Regions from separate parts of the Homo sapiens genome. Here regions 1, 2, 3, 4 and 5 are each linked to region 6. The links are contacts of gene promoters, found by promoter capture Hi-C in blood cells and fetal thymus (Javierre and others, 2016). All regions are on one chromosome and are shown on one strand. Each heading gives the region's core, a stretch centred on a gene start or on the middle of the fragment in contact. The rest is flanking DNA. Distances are from core to core; before and after follow the strand shown. Region 1 overlaps KARS1 (lysyl-tRNA synthetase 1). Region 2 holds the start of CFDP1 (craniofacial development protein 1). Region 3 holds the start of TMEM231 (transmembrane protein 231). Region 4 has its middle 5.0 kb from the start of TMEM170A. Region 5 overlaps ADAT1 (adenosine deaminase tRNA specific 1). Region 6 holds the start of TXNL4B (thioredoxin like 4B).

The links. The method cuts DNA at HindIII sites, captures the fragments that hold promoters and counts their contacts. A CHiCAGO score of 5 or more calls a contact.
Region 1: a fragment that was not itself captured here is called in contact with the fragment with the promoter of TXNL4B in region 6 in 1 of 17 cell types (activated CD4 T cells); the score reaches 5.8 in activated CD4 T cells.
Region 2: the fragment with the promoter of CFDP1 here is called in contact with the fragment with the promoter of TXNL4B in region 6 in 1 of 17 cell types (non-activated CD4 T cells); the score reaches 10.1 in non-activated CD4 T cells.
Region 3: a contact is called between a fragment that was not itself captured here and the fragment with the promoter of TXNL4B in region 6, in 3 of 17 cell types (non-activated CD4 T cells, activated CD4 T cells and naive CD8 T cells). The highest score is 7.2, in non-activated CD4 T cells.
Region 4: a fragment that was not itself captured here is called in contact with the fragment with the promoter of TXNL4B in region 6 in 2 of 17 cell types (activated CD4 T cells and total CD4 T cells); the score reaches 6.4 in activated CD4 T cells.
Region 5: a contact is called between a fragment that was not itself captured here and the fragment with the promoter of TXNL4B in region 6, in 1 of 17 cell types (non-activated CD4 T cells). The highest score is 6.6, in non-activated CD4 T cells.

Annotation. Positions count from the first base shown.
Region 1 is chr16:75,642,266-75,644,978 of GRCh38, reverse strand. All of the region lies in intron 1 of KARS1 (lysyl-tRNA synthetase 1), which reads left to right. Among named protein-coding and RNA genes, the nearest start is that of KARS1, 4.0 kb to the left of the region's middle. The HindIII fragment of the contact is 3,555 bases long and covers 1-2,713 here.
Region 2 is chr16:75,432,124-75,434,823 of GRCh38, reverse strand. CFDP1 (craniofacial development protein 1) reads left to right here and starts at 1,321. Exons shown (of 7, transcript NM_006324.3): 1 at 1,321-1,535. The coding sequence starts at 1,472. RefSeq lists enhancers at 715-1,282, 826-1,335 and a silencer at 1,646-1,885. The HindIII fragment of the contact is 10,360 bases long and covers 1-2,700 here.
Region 3 is chr16:75,556,238-75,558,937 of GRCh38, reverse strand. TMEM231 (transmembrane protein 231) reads left to right here and starts at 2,686. Exons shown (of 7, transcript NM_001077418.3): 1 at 2,686-2,700. RefSeq lists enhancers at 2,256-2,365, 2,396-2,475 and a silencer at 2,516-2,625. The HindIII fragment of the contact is 1,045 bases long and covers 852-1,896 here.
Region 4 is chr16:75,468,311-75,471,010 of GRCh38, reverse strand. No RefSeq gene overlaps it. Among named protein-coding and RNA genes, the nearest start is that of TMEM170A, 5.0 kb to the right of the region's middle. The HindIII fragment of the contact is 1,443 bases long and covers 605-2,047 here.
Region 5 is chr16:75,619,363-75,622,062 of GRCh38, reverse strand. It overlaps ADAT1 (adenosine deaminase tRNA specific 1), which reads left to right. Exons shown (of 10, transcript NM_001324445.2): 2 at 1,243-1,432; 3 at 1,729-1,797. The coding sequence starts at 1,264. Among named protein-coding and RNA genes, the nearest start is that of ADAT1, 2.6 kb to the left of the region's middle. RefSeq lists enhancers at 1-28, 29-549 and a silencer at 618-912. The HindIII fragment of the contact is 2,243 bases long and covers 216-2,458 here.
Region 6 is chr16:72,092,316-72,095,015 of GRCh38, reverse strand. TXNL4B (thioredoxin like 4B) reads left to right here and starts at 1,396. Exons shown (of 4, transcript NM_017853.3): 1 at 1,396-1,649. DHX38 (DEAH-box helicase 38) reads right to left here and starts at 1,169. Exons shown (of 27, transcript NM_014003.4): 1 at 965-1,169. RefSeq lists enhancers at 874-1,173, 1,234-1,283, 1,294-1,623. The HindIII fragment of the contact is 4,501 bases long and covers 1-1,862 here.

The DNA of each region.
Region 1 (2,713 bases), core at 29-2,528, 3.6 Mb before region 6:
CCTTCCTGAAATTCTCCTTTCCCCTTGTTCCTAGAGTTCCAAACAAGTCTTCTCTTTGACACGTATTTTTGTGTGGCTTGCATTTATCTTTGTCTAGAGTTTGCAATTGATAGTGACAGTTTCCTCTTATTTTATATGCTTCCTATTGCCATCTTGTGGCCAGGTATTTCCTCTCCAGGTGAGAAACCACACTTCAGGGCTTCAGAAAGTGCCTCACATCCTGTTCCCATATTCTAGGATGTTGTGAGCAATTTTACCTGTAAGCTATCCATTAACTTGCTGTTGGCTTTACCCCAGATATGCATGTTTTTTCCATAGTCAGGACTAAGAACATTGTCAGTTACAGTTGTAGCACAGAGAGTGTTACAGGGTTGCTATCAGTTAAGACAGTCTTAAGTTAAATGGGACTAAAAGGTAGTAGAAGCATGGTCCCCCTCCCCAACCCATAAGAGAGTTGGTTGGGTATATGTATACTGTCTGTCCCATCTGACACCACATCTCTGTGTTTCCCGCTAGGTGGTGGTAATCATTAGTTCCAGGGTGCTCTGCCATGTTGACGCAAGCTGCTGTAAGGCTTGTTAGGGGGTCCCTGCGCAAAACCTCCTGGGCAGAGTGGGGTCACAGGGAACTGCGACTGGGTCAACTTGCTCCTTTCACAGCGCCTCACAAGGACAAGTCATTTTCTGATCAAAGAAGGTTGGTGCCCATTACCTTCTTTATTGCTCTGGAAGCAAAAATTATTTCCTTACTTGGTTCATTTTCCGTTAAGCCTCTGGCTAAGTCTTTGGACTTGTTGCTAAGGAAACAAGGAGCCCTAATACCAAAACCAATAGTCCTTTCTCATTTTCTCTTTAATAAATTCAAATCGTCTCTCCTTAGAGTCTTGAGATGACATGTGGATCTTATTCTAGAAGAGTGCTAAGAACAAAACCTTTGTTTGAACAAATAATTTCTAATGCCAGCTATTTCCCTTTTCTGTCTTTCTGGAGTTTTGTGTGCTCTTGAGATTAATTTGGTTTCTAGTCTTAGTGCTATCCCTAGGACCTTTTTGGATTATCCTTAAGATTGATTTGATTTAAGAGGAGCACCTGGTTGAGTGGAAAACAGATTTATCTTAATTCTAGAAGAACTAGACAGCCTAATCTTAGCAGTCCACTGACTGAATTATAGCATGATAACACCAGCACAGTGTTTTGGAAAGGTTGTCTTTACAAATGTTATAAGACATTATATGTAGAAAAAGCTGTCAACTTTGAAACCATTCAGAATCTGTTTTTCTTTTTTACAAGATGAAAGATTCGGCCAGGCGTGGTGGCTCACGCCTGTAATCCCAGCACTTTGGGAGGCCAAGACAGGCAGATCACGAGGTCAGGAGATCAAGACCATCCTGGCTAACACGGTGAAACCCCATCTTCACTAAAAATACCAAAAAAATTAGCCGGGCATGGTGGCGGGCACCTGTAGTCCCAGCTACTCCGGAGGCTGAGGCAGGAAAATGGTGTGAACCCGGGAGGCAGAGCTTACAGTGATCTGAGATCGCACCACTGCACTCCAGCCTGGGCAACACAGCGAGACTCTGTCTCAAAAAAAAAAAAAAAAGGTGAAAGATTCAAAACCTCAATTCATTTTTTAAAGTTATTCTAAATTCATATCGAAAATGAAGGATGTGTCCTGAAGCCAGAATGTTTGCGGGCATGACTTGGGATCTTCTGCTGTGGTTCACTATTGCAGAATATTTGATTATGTTCAGCGGTTTGAAAGAATGATCCATAAATTGTCTTTGAATAGTAAAGATATCCCTCCCTACACCAATCTGTTTAGTTTCTGGTTTCAGATAGCAAATTCAGACTATAAGAGACATGAACATATCATACAGAACAGCTCAGAGTTGTCCGCATTACTTTGGTTTTTCAGGTTCAAGTGATAAGTATCAAGAGTTTGGATACCAAGTGATTTAACCAGAAATGTATTTAAATCTATATGAGGCACAGAGAGTAAAGGGTTAAGATACTAAAAGATACCTAGAAAGCTCACATTTGGTTAGCTGAATGCCAGGGTCAGGGTAATCCCTTTATACAAACATTATCTCATTACACACCATAACAACTGGTGGGGGTTGTCTATTATTATTTTCGTTTCACAGGTGAGAAGTTAATTCACTCGTCCAAGTCACATAATTGACAAGTGTGTTGGAATTTAGTCCCAGGCAGCCTGACTACAAAGATGGTATATTACCCCCTGTACTATACTGCTTTGCACACCGTTCTATTTTGTTGTCTAAGTCAGGCTCCAGTGGGCAAAGTGAGACTAATGCTGACAGCCATTCTTGGAGAGACTGTTGGTAGGGGAGGTCTCCTTGAGTGCTAAAGAGCCGGCTCTTCCTTACTATCATCCTAACTCACTCTTAGGGGAGGGATAGAGAGAGGGGGTAGCAGAGGGCTGGAGATGTTGCCTTATCATGTATTAGATCTGGCATTGGAGGGGTCAGGTGGCTCACACCTGTAATCCTAGCACTTTGGGAGGCCAAGGTGGGCAGATCACTTGAGGAAAGGAGTTTGAGACCAGTCTGGCCAACGTGGTGAAACCTCGTCTCACTAAAAATACATAAATTAGTTGACTGTGGTGGTACACACCTGTAATCCCAGCTACTCAGGAGGCTGAGGCACGAGAATCTCTTGAAACCCGGGAGGCAGAGATTGCAGTAAGCTGAGAT
Region 2 (2,700 bases), core at 72-2,571, 3.3 Mb before region 6:
GGGATGAAGCAGTTGTGGAACCAATCAGACATCATCCACACTTTTTTGTTCCACCTCCAATAGACTGGCAGATGGTTCACGTATTTCCCGTTAAGTGCTTGTGGATTTTGGGTTCTTTACACCATTAGGAGTTTGCACTTTAGTCGCTCTTGGCATTGGCGCACAATAACAAGGGTGCATGATCCTGGCATGATTTAAAGCCAGGGGCTTTGGAGGCCGTTTGCATTATATAGGTTCGTTTGCCAACATCCTTGTAAAATAAGCCAGTCTCATCCGCATTGAAAACCTGCTCTTTCACATAACCCTTTTCCTGTATAACACTTAGCAAGTATTTTTAAAATTCTTCCGCAGCCTCCTGATCTGCAGAGCTCGCCTCACCTGCAAGTTTAACATTTTTCACCCCGTATCGCCTTTTGAAACGCGCGAGCCGGCCAGCACTCGCCGAGAAGGGCTTAGCATTTCTTTGACTCTGGGTAACGTGACCACAGATATCTTTGGCTTTCAGCCTCACCACAATGCTGTCCACTATGTTTTTTTTAATCGATTGACATCTCATGAATCCACAAATTTAGCCGCTTTTCCATCTTTTCCATCTTTGTCATAGCTTCATCACGCACGATGGAGGTCACTTCAGCACTATCCGGAGCGGCCTCACGGACAGATCGGTGAATTTCCTTTTCCTTTTTCTTGATGTACCGGATTGTCGACTCGTTAACATTGAGCTCATGGCCAACAGCACTGTAACTCATGCCTGATTGGAGCTTATCCAACACGCGGACTTTCTCCGTAAGGCACATCACGGTCTTCTTTCGCTTAGGAACACTGGGCAGAGCTTAAGCACTACGCTTGGGGGCCATTTTAGAAAGCAAAACCACCCACAAAAAGCAGAAAAAAAAGTGTCAGTAAACAGACTGCGGAAAGGACTCTTTGTTTACAGCACAGGAGCTGCGACTAGAAGGCGGCGCTTCTCCCAGTTCAAACTTCAGCTGGGAACCTTACCTCCGCCAACTCCAAATTTTCACCCTCTGCGCATGCCCGGGAAGAACCCCAGACAGTACCGTGATGATTGATTTTAGGGTTACAAATACATTTTAGCAAGTAAGTGAATTTGGCATTACGAATTAATGATTAATGAAGGTCACCTGTATTTCCATAGATATGTAATTTTATTTAAGCAGGTTTATTATATTAAGGCGGCGAGGCAGCGCCGAAGACTACAAGTTCCAGCATGCACCGCGTCCGGGCGGGTTCGGGCTCCCAGCGAGGGCTTCAGGGACGCCAGCCCGGAGGCATCGGCCGGAAGTGTCGTAGGGCAACCACGTAGTACTCTCTGCGCATGTGCAAAGCGCTGTCGGGGGCCGCCCTAGCTGCCGTCGCCGCCGCCGGGGCTCTATGGTCTCTCCCTAGAGCTTTGCCGTTGGAGGCGGCTGCTGCGGTCTTGTGAGTTTGACCAGCGTCGAGCGGCAGCAACATGGAGGAATTCGACTCCGAAGACTTCTCTACGTCGGAGGAGGACGAGGACTACGTGCCGTCGGGTGAGCGATTCCGCCTGAGGCGAGAAGCGAATTGCCCCGCCCCACGCCTCACGTGAGGCGCGCTCTGCCCCCGCGGGCGTCTGCCCTGTGGCCCAGGTGGTCCAGGGGGGCTCCTGTTCTCGAGCGTCCGCTCCCTCAGGCCCCTCATCCTCGGCCGCTCCGGCCCGAGGCGTGTGCGCGTGGCGGTTCTGTGCTCCCCTCCCGTTGGGCAGCTCCGGCCGCCGCCCCCTCTTGCAGCGCGGGAACCGGCACATGGACACGGCCCCTTGTCGCTAGGGACGCTCGTCGGTCAGCCCCGAACGACACCGCTGCTTCAGAAGTCGGGGCGGCAGTCCGAGCCTTGGAGGTTTTTTTCAGCCCTGGCCCGAGAGAGCTGCTGGCCACCACCCCGTCCAAGATAGAGCTGTCCGCTCTCCGCCTGGTTGTTAGAAAGTTCTGATAGAAAGTTCCCCCTTTGATGCTTTTTGCCTCATTGTGACGTCCACCCATCCTCTCCTCTCAGAACTTTCTTTCCTTAGGGATCTCAACCCGAACGGGGTGAGAATGAATCTTACTGAAGAAATCTTTCTGTTCCCCCTTCTTGGTCTTCCCCAGACAAACCGTCTCGTTGAAAGTATCTTCACCCATTCACATCTTCAGTTGAAAGACTAGACAAACAAGAAACAAACAGACTAACAAAACACAACCCAGGAGTCGTCCCTATTCTCTTTGTTTTACTTTGTTCTGTTCTGTTTTATTTAAAGACAGGGTCTTGCTGTTGTCTAGGCTGGAGTGCAGTGATGCGATCTTGGCTCACTGCAACCTCAGACTCCTGGGCTCAAGCGATCCTCCCGTCTCAGCCTCTGGAGTAGCTGGGACTGCAGGTGCAGGCTGCCACGCCCGCTAATTTTTTAAATTTTTTTTTTTTTTTTTTTTTTTAGAAATGGCATCTTGCTATGTTGCCCAGGCTGGTCTCGAACTCGTGGGCTCAAGTGATCCTCCCACCTCAGCCACCCAAAGTGCTGGGATTACAGGCATGAGCCACCGCGCCCCGGCTAGTGAAGTATTTCTAAAAGGCACGTTGAAAACTAGCCATTCCATTCCTGGCGCGGTGGCTCATGCTTGTAATCCCAACACTTTGGGAGGCTGAGGTGGGTGGATCACAAGGTCTGGAGATCGAGACCAT
Region 3 (2,700 bases), core at 125-2,624, 3.5 Mb before region 6:
AGCTGACCAGTATTAGCATCAACACATAGATCTTAAGACTGATATTAATAGAACAGACTCTTAAAGTCTGATAAGAAACATTTACAATCTGTTCTCTCTGAAGCCTGGAGGCTTCATCTGCATGATAAAACATTAGACTCCACAACCCCTTATTGTTTTTTGTTTTTGTTTTTTTTTTGAAATGGAGTCTCACTTTGTCACCCAGGCTGAAGTGCAGTGGTATGATCTCGGCTCACTGCAGCTGCTGCCTCCCGGGTTAAAGCAATTCTCCTGCCTCAGCCTCCCAAGTAGCTGGGATTACAGGTGGACACCGCCAGATGCAGCTAATGTTTTTTTTTTTAATACATATTTTTGGTAGAGACAGGGTTTCACCATGTTGGCCAGGCTGGTCTTGAACTCCTGACCTCAAGTGATCTGCCTGCCTTGGCCTCCCAAAGTGTTGGGATTACAGGCGTGAGCCACTGTGCCCCGCCCACAAACCCACACATTCCTTTCTATTGATTCCAGGTCTTTAGATAATAACCAGTTGACAATTGGAAAAATCTCTGAATCTGCCAATTCTGTGGTCTGGAAGCCCCACCCCACCTCCACTTGTCTCATCTTTCAGTACTGAACCAATGTACATCTTACACGTATTGATTGATGTCTTATGTCTCCCTAAATGTATAAACTCAAGTTATACCCTATCCACCTTGGGCGTATGTCATCAGGACCTCCTGAGGCTGTGTCACAGGCATGTCCTTAACCTTGGCAAAATAAATTTCTACGTTGATTGAGACTTGTCTCAGATACATTTTGGTTTACACTACTGACATGCTGTCATTAGAGTGACTTTTCCAAATCACAAAGCTTATCATGTCTTTCCACTTAAATGTCATTTTACTGACCCTTTAACAAATTTACTTATATTTAAATATTTTGTATTTATTTTTTTAGAGACAAGGTCTCCTTCTGTCTCCCAGCCTGGAGTGCAGTAGTGCATTCATGGCTCACTGCAGCCTCCTGGGCTCAAGCCTTCCTCCTGCCCAGGCCTCCCGAGTAGCTGGACCTACAGGCATGAGCCACTGTGCTCAGCCACTCAGGACCTTTTTGTTGTTGTTGTTGTTGTTTGAGATGGAGTCTCGCTGCCACCCAGGCTGGAGTCCAATGTGTGATCTCCGCTCACTGTAATCTGTGCCTCCCGGGTTCAAGCGATTCTCCTGCCTCAGCCTCCAGAGTAGCTGGGATTACAGGTGCCCATCACCATGCCTGGCTAATTTTTGTATTTTTAGTAGAGATGAGGGTTCACCATGTTGGCCAGGCTGGTCTTGAACCCCTGACCTCAGGTGATCCGCCCACCTTGGCCTCCCAAAGTGTTGGGATTACAGGCGTGAGCCACCGTGCCCAGCCATTCAGGGCCATTTGATGAAGAAATTGGCTGTGGACCATAGATTTTTTTAAAAAGTCCTTCTACCATGTTAGAAATATTGGTTGGGGGTGGTGGCGGGGGGGTGTAGGCATTCAATTAAGCAATAAGCCAGTGATCTTTGGGGAGGACCATATATTCCTGTAAAACTCGCGGCTGAGCTGTACCCAACACAGGGTTAACGAAGTGCATCAGAGCTTTGTAGTAATTCCACTCTATCCGTGGAAGAGCCAGGGGATTTGTGTTTCCGTGTCTGTCTTGCATGGGAGCATAGTGGAAGCAACAGAAAATCTGGGGGCAAAAGCACCTGGCTTTGATCTCAGCCCAGGACCAGGTCCAGGACCACGGCCAGGCTTGTGACTGACTGGACTTCAGTAGGAACCACACTGGGGGTTAACAGATGACACAAAAGCAGGTGTTCGTTCTGTGCGGGAGACGCGCTAGGGGAGAAGAAAAGGCACACACACAGTACCTTTAAGGGTAAGCAAGCTTTATCCCACGTAAATGGCAATGCAGATATTATAATAAGCAAATTAATATAATAAGCAGATTGATATAATAAGCAAATTGCAATGGGAAGAGGAGAAGGAAAAAGACATATATATATATATATTTACACTCACCAGACTATGGAGGATTCACCTCCAGACTGGGAAGCAACGACCTGGGCTCCAGAGCCGGCCACTCGTCAGTGCACAGACGAGGAGAGGTCTCATGAAGCTTTTTGGCGTGGTCTGGGACCCTAGATCTTTTTGTAACATGTTGTCTAGCATGAGGCCCAGTCACGAGGGCCCTTTGCGACTGGGCTCAAGGAACACAAAAAGGTCAACTTGTTTTTGCGATTGTTGTTTTTCAATAACTGACGTATAGGAGTAGACTGAAATAGAGATTTCTCCGAAACAGCGCTGGATGAACGCCTCAAGGGGCTCCCACAACCTGTTTAGGGACTTGGTGACCATTGTTTGTGTCCATGTCAGTTGAAATTTAAATATTTAGTTCTTCCTCCTCAGTGTTCAAGTCAACTTTTATGGGCATCTTATTTTACACAAATGTTAACACAGACAACAGCCACGACTCTGGTCCACGGAAACGTTCTATCGCCGCCCAGCCTTTACGCAAACGTACACAGCTCGAAAAGCTAGGCCGACCGTCCCCGGCAGCGCCACGCCCGCTAACCCCGCCCCCGCCACTGGCTCCTTTCGGTGCGGCCTTGCTATTGGCTCCTTTCTGTGAGCCGTCGGTTGCCGTGGAGACCGAGGCGATGGCAACCAGGAGAAGCCAAACTTGGTCCCCCG
Region 4 (2,700 bases), core at 77-2,576, 3.4 Mb before region 6:
GGAGTTCAAGACCAGCCTGACCCATATGGTGAAACCCAGTCTCTACTAAAAATATAAAAATTAGCTGGGCATCGTGGCATGCACCTGTAGTCCCAGCTACTCAGGAGGCTGAGGCAGGAGAATTGCTTGAACCCGGGAGGCGGAGGTTGAATTGAGCCGAGATGGCGCCAAAGGACTCCAACCTGGGCGACAGAGCGAGACTCCATCTCAAAAACAAACAAAACAAAACAAAACAAAACAAAAACCAGCCAGGCGCAGTGGCTCACGCCTGTAATCCCAGCACTTTGGGAGGCCGAGGCAGGCAGATCATGAGGTCAGGAGTTCGAGACCAGCCTGGCCAACATGGTGAAACCCCATCTCTACTAAAAATACAAAAATTAGCCAGGCGTGGTGGTGGTGGTGCACGCTTGTAATCCCAGCTAATCAGGAGGCTGAGGCAGGAGAATCGCTTAAACCTGGGAGGCGGAGGTTGCAGTGAGCTGAGATCGCGCCACTGCACTCCAGCCTGGGCGATAGAGTGTGACTCTCTCAAACAACAACAACAACAACCCTGCCCTTCAGGAACTTGCATTCTGATGGTGGGGAGATAGCTGATGAATAAGCTTAATAAATGGCTACATTATTTAGCATATTAGAAAGTGCCAAGGATTAAAGTAGAGAAGGATCGGGGGATGAGGAATATATGTGTGTAGAGGTGTGAGTTGTAATTTTTAATGGGGTGATCAGGGTAGGTCTCAGTGAGAAAGCGACATTTGAGGAAAGTCTTACAGGAGGTGAGGGAGTATGTTAAGGGCAATCATGGGTAGCCTGTCTGGGAGCAGGAAAGAGCTAACACAAAAGCCCTAAGGAGGGGAGGCATCTGGCTTGTTGAAAGAGCAGCAAGGGGCCAGGGGGTCTGGTGTGCTGGACCGCCTCCTTGGCTTCCTTAGACAGGGCCCAGGAAACCTCCATTTTCTGAGTCCTGCAAGGCTAAATGTCTTTTTTTAACCTGTCAATTCATAAATGAACTAAAGATCGAATTCTAAATTCAAAATAATGTTTCCTAATGTAATACATAATTGATTATGTAACCCTACAATAATTGATTTCTTCCACTTTTTTTTTTTTTTTTTTTTGAGACGGAGTCTCGCTCTGTTGCCCAGGCTGGAGTGCAGTGGCGCGATCTCTGCTCACTGCAAGCTCCACCTCCCGGGTTCACGCCATTCTCCTGCCTCAGCCTCTCCGGTAGCTGGGATTACAGGCGCCCACCACCACGCCCAGCTGATTTTTTTTTTTTTTTTTTTTTTTTGAGACAGAGTCTCATTTTGTTGCCCAGACTGGAGTGCAATGGCACGATCTCGGCTCCTGCAACCTCTGCCTCCCGGGTTCAAGTAATTCTCCTGTCTCAGCCTCCCAAGTAGCTGGGATTACAGGCGCATGCCACCAGGCCCGGCTAATTTTTGTATTTTTAGTAGAGATGGGGTTTCACCATGTTGGTCAGGCTGTTCTGGAACTCCTGACCTCGTGATCTGCCTGCCTCGGCCTCCCAAAGTGCTGGGATTACAGGTGTGACCTACCACACCTGGCCCTTTTTCTTTTTTTTTTTTTTTTTTTGAGACAGAGTCTTGCTCTGTCGCCCAGGTTGGAGTGCAATGGTGCGATCTCGGCTCACCGCAACCTCCACCTCCCAGGTTCAAGCAATTCTCCTGCCTCAGCCTCCTGAGTAGCTGGGATTACAGGCACATGCCACCATGCCCGGCTAATTTTTGTATTTTTAGTAAAGACGGGGTTTCACCATGTTGGTCAGGTTGGTCTCAAACTCCTGACCTCGTGATCCACCCGCCGCAGCCTCCCAAAGTGCTGGGATTACAGGCATGAGCCACCACGCCCAGCGGTTTCTTCCACTTCTAATAGACTCTGCTAGTCTGGGAAATGTACCAAAAAGACAGCATGGTTAAAAGGTCAGTATTTCCTGACCCTTTTTATACTTCCTATTTTTATTTTAGATAGGTTTCTTGGTTGATGCAAAACGCCAATTGTAGTGGTAGGGAACTGGCAGGAGGAAGCTTCCTAAACGGAGGTTTCAAGAGAGACTTCTGTTTCTTTTTTTTTTTTTTTTTTTTTTTGAGACGGAGTCTCGCTCTGTCGCCCAGGATTGAGTGCAGTGGCGCAATCTCAGCTCACTGCAAGCTCCACCTCCTGGGTTCACACCATTCTCCTGCCTCAGCCTCCCGAGTAGTTGAGACTACAGGCACCTGCCACCACGCCCGGCTAATTTTTTTGTATTTTCAGTAGAGACGGGGTTTCACCGTGTTAGCCAGGGATGGTCTCGATCTCCTGACCTCGTGATCCGCCCGTCTCTGCCTCCCAAAGTGCTGGGATTACAGGTGTGAGCCACCACGCCCGGCCTTTTTTCTTTTTGAGATGGAGTCTGGCTTTGTTGCCCACGCTGGAGTGCAGTGGCTCCCGGGTTCAAGCAATGCTCTTACCTCAGCCTCCTGAGTAACTGGGACTACAGTCACACACCACCATTCCCAGTTAATTTTTTCTATTTTAGTAGAGATGGGGTTTCACCATGTTGCTCAGGTTGGTCTGGAACTCCTGAGCTCAGACAATTTGCCTGCTTCAGCCTCCCAAAGTGCCAGAATTACAGGTGTGAGCCACCGCGCCCGGCTCAGGAGAAAATTCTAATAAACAGTCTTGCTAATGTTCTTGAATTAA
Region 5 (2,700 bases), core at 88-2,587, 3.5 Mb before region 6:
TTCTCCTGCCTCAGCCTCCCGAGTAGCTGGGACTACAGGCACGCGCCATCACGCCCGGCTAATTTTTTTGTATTTTCAGTAGAGACAGGGTTTCACCACGTTGGCCAGGCTGGCCTCGAACTCCTGACCTCAGGTGAGCCACCGCGCCCGGCCTTCAGTTTGGTTTTACAGTGCTTAGCTATGTCTATCACAAGCTCATCTTCTACTGGGAAGCTTTTTGTATAATTGAGTCCAAATGAGATCAGGATGTGCCTAGTGAGCATTGATAGGGCCAAGAGTGAGAGATTTCCCTGCAAAGTATCCTAGGGATCTGCTTGATGGTTTTTTAATTCATGGCTTTCTATGCCCATTACAGCCCTCCCCCTTTCACCCCCACCACCAGGTAGCTCAAGGCAAATTAACCAGGAAAATCATCAAATGTTATTTTTTGTAATAGTAATCACAGTTGACCTTAATTATGCTCAACATAGTAGCAATTGCTTTTTATAAGTATTACTTATTTAACCCTCACAGTAACCCTAAGTATTATTTAATCTTCACAATAATCTAAATAGGTTAGATACTATTGTTATCACTATTTTGACAGATGAGGAAACAGACCCAGCAAGGTTAAGTAGTCTATTCAGCATCACAGTTAATTTGTGGCAAAGCCAAAATTAGAACCCAGAAAGGGTGAATCCAAAGTCCACACCCTTAAGTAGAGCTCTATGAGAACACGTAACTGCTGAGAAACATTTCAGTGGGGATTTACTAGAGGGCGGTAGAGAAACACTCTGCTGTAGGGGAAAGGAGAAAAATAAAATGCCTGGAAAAAGAAGACAGATAAGAACATCTGTCCAGAAAGATAAACCTTATACAGTGAGGGTCTGCCCAAAGCAAGTGAGTCTGCAACCCTTTACATGCCGTTTCCAGTGAAAACTGGAGTAGTGAGGACATTTCCTTCTCGTGTCCTTTAATGTTGAGTAGAGGATGCAGACTCCTTAGAAATGTATCAGATATATAACATTAAGAAAAACTTGAAACAATAATTTTGGGGATTGGTAGAATTTGGGGTTTCTTTGATCTTTCATTAAAGATGAAAAGGGGGCAGGGAGATAGTAGAAGAAAATGATCCATAGAGTTCCAGATAGGGAAACCTCGGTCTGCTCCATTTGAAAGACTCGAAGCATGGATATGAGAGGCTGTAGCATCGTGCACTGGTTCTCCTTTCCGTACTTCTGATGGTTGTGGTTTTTGATCAAGGTCTCAATACCAGCTCAGACCATGTGGACCGCGGATGAGATTGCTCAGCTATGCTATGAACACTATGGGATCAGGCTGCCCAAGAAGGGGAAGCCTGAGCCAAACCATGAGTGGACATTATTGGCAGCGGTGGTGAAGATACAATCTCCAGCTGACAAGGCCTGCGACACCCCTGATAAGCCGGTGCAAGGTGAGACTTTTTCTTCTTGGCATGCTCCTCACTGTGAGAGATGGTAAAATTATGCATTGCTGTACTGTGAGGGTACAGTCGTGGGTAGGGTGTGAACTACGATGTTAGGCATATGTGCTTGTCCTCTGCTAGGTGACGCAGTACCTCTGATGGCGGGAGACCGCCATGCTGGAACCGCAGACCTTGGTTGAGTGGGCCTCTGGGAATCCCCTAGAGGAGTGTGCAGGCTGATCACACCTGAACACCGGGGAACATTCCGTTTCTCAGAACTCACACGATTTGTTTTTTTCCCACAGTGACAAAGGAAGTTGTGTCAATGGGAACAGGAACAAAATGCATAGGACAGTCCAAAATGAGGAAGAACGGTAAGCACGGGTGGGAATCTAAACAAAGATTTAGCTTGAAACCAGTGTCCATGTTTTACTCTCCTTGTCAGGGAAGAGGGGCCATGTCAGTTGAGGTGCATGGCATTTGTTTCCTACTGACTATCAGTCCAGTTGGAAGGACCGTACTCACTTGGAGAATGGAAATCCACCATCAAAGCGGAGGCCTCTAGGAACATGCTTTCCGAATAACTGAAAGTTAACCAGTATTTTCATGCTCAAACCACAGAGTCCCTGGGTTTAGCTATTCCACATTAGGTCTGGAAGGCTTTGGGACTCTATAGCAGGTAGAGGATGCAGCTTGAGTGGCTTCTGAAGCCCAAGAAAGCAATCTTTTTTTTTTTTTTTTTTTTTGACTCGGAGTCTCGCTCTGTCACCCAGGCTGGAGTGCAATGGGGCAATCTCGATTCACTGCTCTGCAACCTCCCCTTCCTGGGTTTAAGCGATTCTCCTGCCTCAGCAGGCACCCACCATCACGCCCAGCTAATTTTTGTATTTTTTTAGAGACGGGGTTTCACCATGCTGGCCAAGCTAGTCTTGAACTCCTGACCTCAGGTGATCTGCCCACATTGGCCTCCCAAAGTGCTGGGATTAAAGGTGTGAGCCACCGCACCTGGTAAGCAATCTTGAATGACAGGAAGCTTTGGGCCTCAACAAGAATATGAAAATTCCTTAGAGATCTGGGGGTTTTTATTTGTCTGTTTCAGTGGTTTTTTTTTTTTTAAGAGACAGGGTCTCACTGAAGTACGGTGGTACTATCATAGCTCACTGCAGCCTTGAACTCCTGGGCTCAAGTGATCCTCCCACTTCAGCTTCCTGAGTAGCTGGACTATAGGTGTGCACAGCTATGCACACCTATGTGCAGCTAATTTTTTTCATTTTTAT
Region 6 (2,700 bases), core at 147-2,646:
ACAAGAGTTACATTTTGAAAATGCCATCAGGCAGAACAGAAAAAAAGAAAGCTGCATATTGGTGACATCTGTGCGCATGTGAGGAAATCCACACAAGAAGGTAAAGATATACAGGCTCTACTCAATAGTTGTCTAAACTAGGAAAGGTACCCTGGACTGCCATTCTACGCAGTTGAGAGAACACTGGATGTGTTGTTGACTGCTGTAGCTCAATGTCTAGCAAAATAAGCGTTTGATAAATTAAAAAATGAATTAATTTAAACTTATTAAAGGAGGACAGGAACCCAAACATTTCTGGAGACAGCAAGGGAAGATTCCAGCAACACAGGACAAGGAGACAGCCAGAGAGAACTTCATTAGCTGCTGAGACGAACAAATAAGGAGCTAAAGAGCAAGATTCTTGAGAAGGATTAATGGCAAAGAAACTACAAGGCGTACGAGAAAGCCAGGGAAGAAAGAACCTGGATTCATTCATTCAACAATTATTCACTGAGGGTGTCCCTGAGCCAATTGCTGTTCTCGGCGATAGCAACAGAGAACAAGACAAAAATCCCCGCCCACCTGGAGCTGACATTCTAGTAGAAGAGATCGCCCACCAGATTGCCTGGTATAAATGACACTGTGAGAGAGCAGAGGAAGACACAAGGAGTCCTACTCGGGCTCGGTGACAGTCTGGGGTGGGTTAAAGCGGAGGCCTGGGAGAGGGACCAAGGCCACTCCAGGCAGCATCCCTGGATCTCAGCGAGGCCGCTCCAGGCAGCAGGATTTGACCAGAGCAAGGAGGAAGGCCAAGGCGGCCAGGACGGATGCAGCATCCCTGAGGTGAGTAAGGCAAGGTGGGTGACAGGGACGACAGAGGAACTCCCCAAACTGGGGCCCGGACCTGAGCAGGGGACCAATATCCGCCGCCTAGAGCCGCCATGATTACAGAAGGGCAGGCCAGGAAGGAAGAAGGGACTCTCACCTCACCAAGCGCGACTCTTGGGACCCTTCTGTCCCGGATTCTGGGGCGCCGGCGCTGCCACCCCTCGCTCAGACAGGCTCAAGGAGCCAAAATCCACACCTTGAAAGCGGCCATTATTGTCCCTTAATACTTTGCGCGCCCCCTCTATCCGCCCAAAGCTACCATAGAGAGCAGCCTGGAACACGCCCGATTCCTGGATCCAAGTGTGGAACGGTACGCCAACAGGCTCTCAAGGCCTCCTCTGGGGCTCTGATCAGACACTTCCGAGTCTCCTTGTGACCAATCACTCTTAGCCTAAGAGACTACATCCCGCCTCTAGTCTGGGGGCAGGAAAAGGAGGGGAAAAAGGTCGACCATCTTTAATACGGGCGGAGGTGACGCCTAGCTTCCGGTCAGAGCCGAGCAAGGTGGGCGGTGACTAGAAGCTCTTCCGTTTATTGGGCTGTTGAGCGGGGGCCGACCGACGGCCAGGAGTTTCTTTTCTGCGCTTGTGCGTTTTCTGTTCGGTTTCCTTCCCGCTAGCGGGGCCACGAGGGTTGCTAGGCAACAGCCCCTGGGTGACTTGGTCTTAGGGTCCTGTCCGGCTTGGGGCTGATGAAAGGAGCTGTCCGCGCCCGGGCTCTTCCGAGAAGTGGTTGCTGACAGCCACAAAGTGAAAGGGAGTGAGGCGGCGTGGACGAGTAAGGTAAGTGCTGGGGTCCCTTAGCGCTTGTGGGCCAGGAGCAGCGCAACACAGGTGACTTTAAATATGTATATCGGATATTTTGGAAAATGGAGATGCGCGCCCGGCTGTAAATAAAAATCACCCATGCGTTCACACGCAGAGATGACCACTGATTTCCAGTTGTTTTTCTGGAATACATTGTAGTAAGATTCTGTACAAAAGTGAGTTCAAGCTTTTTTTCTTTTTTTGGTGTTTCTGCAGTTGTGGCGCGCGCCTGAGGTTCCAGCTACTCGGGAGGCTGAGGCGGGAGGATTGCTTGAGCCTGGGGAGTTGAGACCAGCCTGGGCAACATAGCGAAACCCCGCCTCAGAAAAAGAGAGGGAGAGAGGAAAGCAGTGGAGTTATTGGTCAAAGAGTATGTCAGTTTTCTTTCCAGAAAGGTTTTGTGTCTGCATTCCAGCAGGAACTCCCTGTGCCTGCCCCTACCACTATCTTGTTTAATTTTTGCCAATTCAGTGACTTTGTAAACATATGTTTTAATTTGCTTTTCTTTGCTTACTGGTAAAGCTTAACTTTTTAGTTTATTTACTGTCCATTTGTACGTCTTCTTTTGGGAATTCTCTGTGGGTATCATTTACTATGGACATTTTCTTAGATGTGGTCTCAGTTTTCCTCTCCTGCTTCCAACGTTTGTCCAGTTGCACCCCTAGCCTCACCACTAACAACTTTGTTCTCCCCTTACTTTCTCCTTTCGATCAGTAACACGGAGGAACTGCTGTTTGTTTGAATTCTAGTGGGACAGATCCGTCTTCTCTTTGACCTTCCCTTTCATTGGTAATTTGTTCTGCTGCTCACATCTGATGACGTCCCTTTGGGCCATCAATGTCCCTGTTTAAAGTATGACCTATAGCTGGAACAATCTTATTTCCTATGTGAATTTTAGTTAAATAATTCCTTTTTTTTTTTTTGGAGACGGAGCTTCGCTCTTGTTGCCTTGCCCAGGCTGGAGTGCAGTGGAGCGATCCTAGCTCACTGCAACCTCCGCCTCCAGGGTTCAAGCAATTCTCCTGCC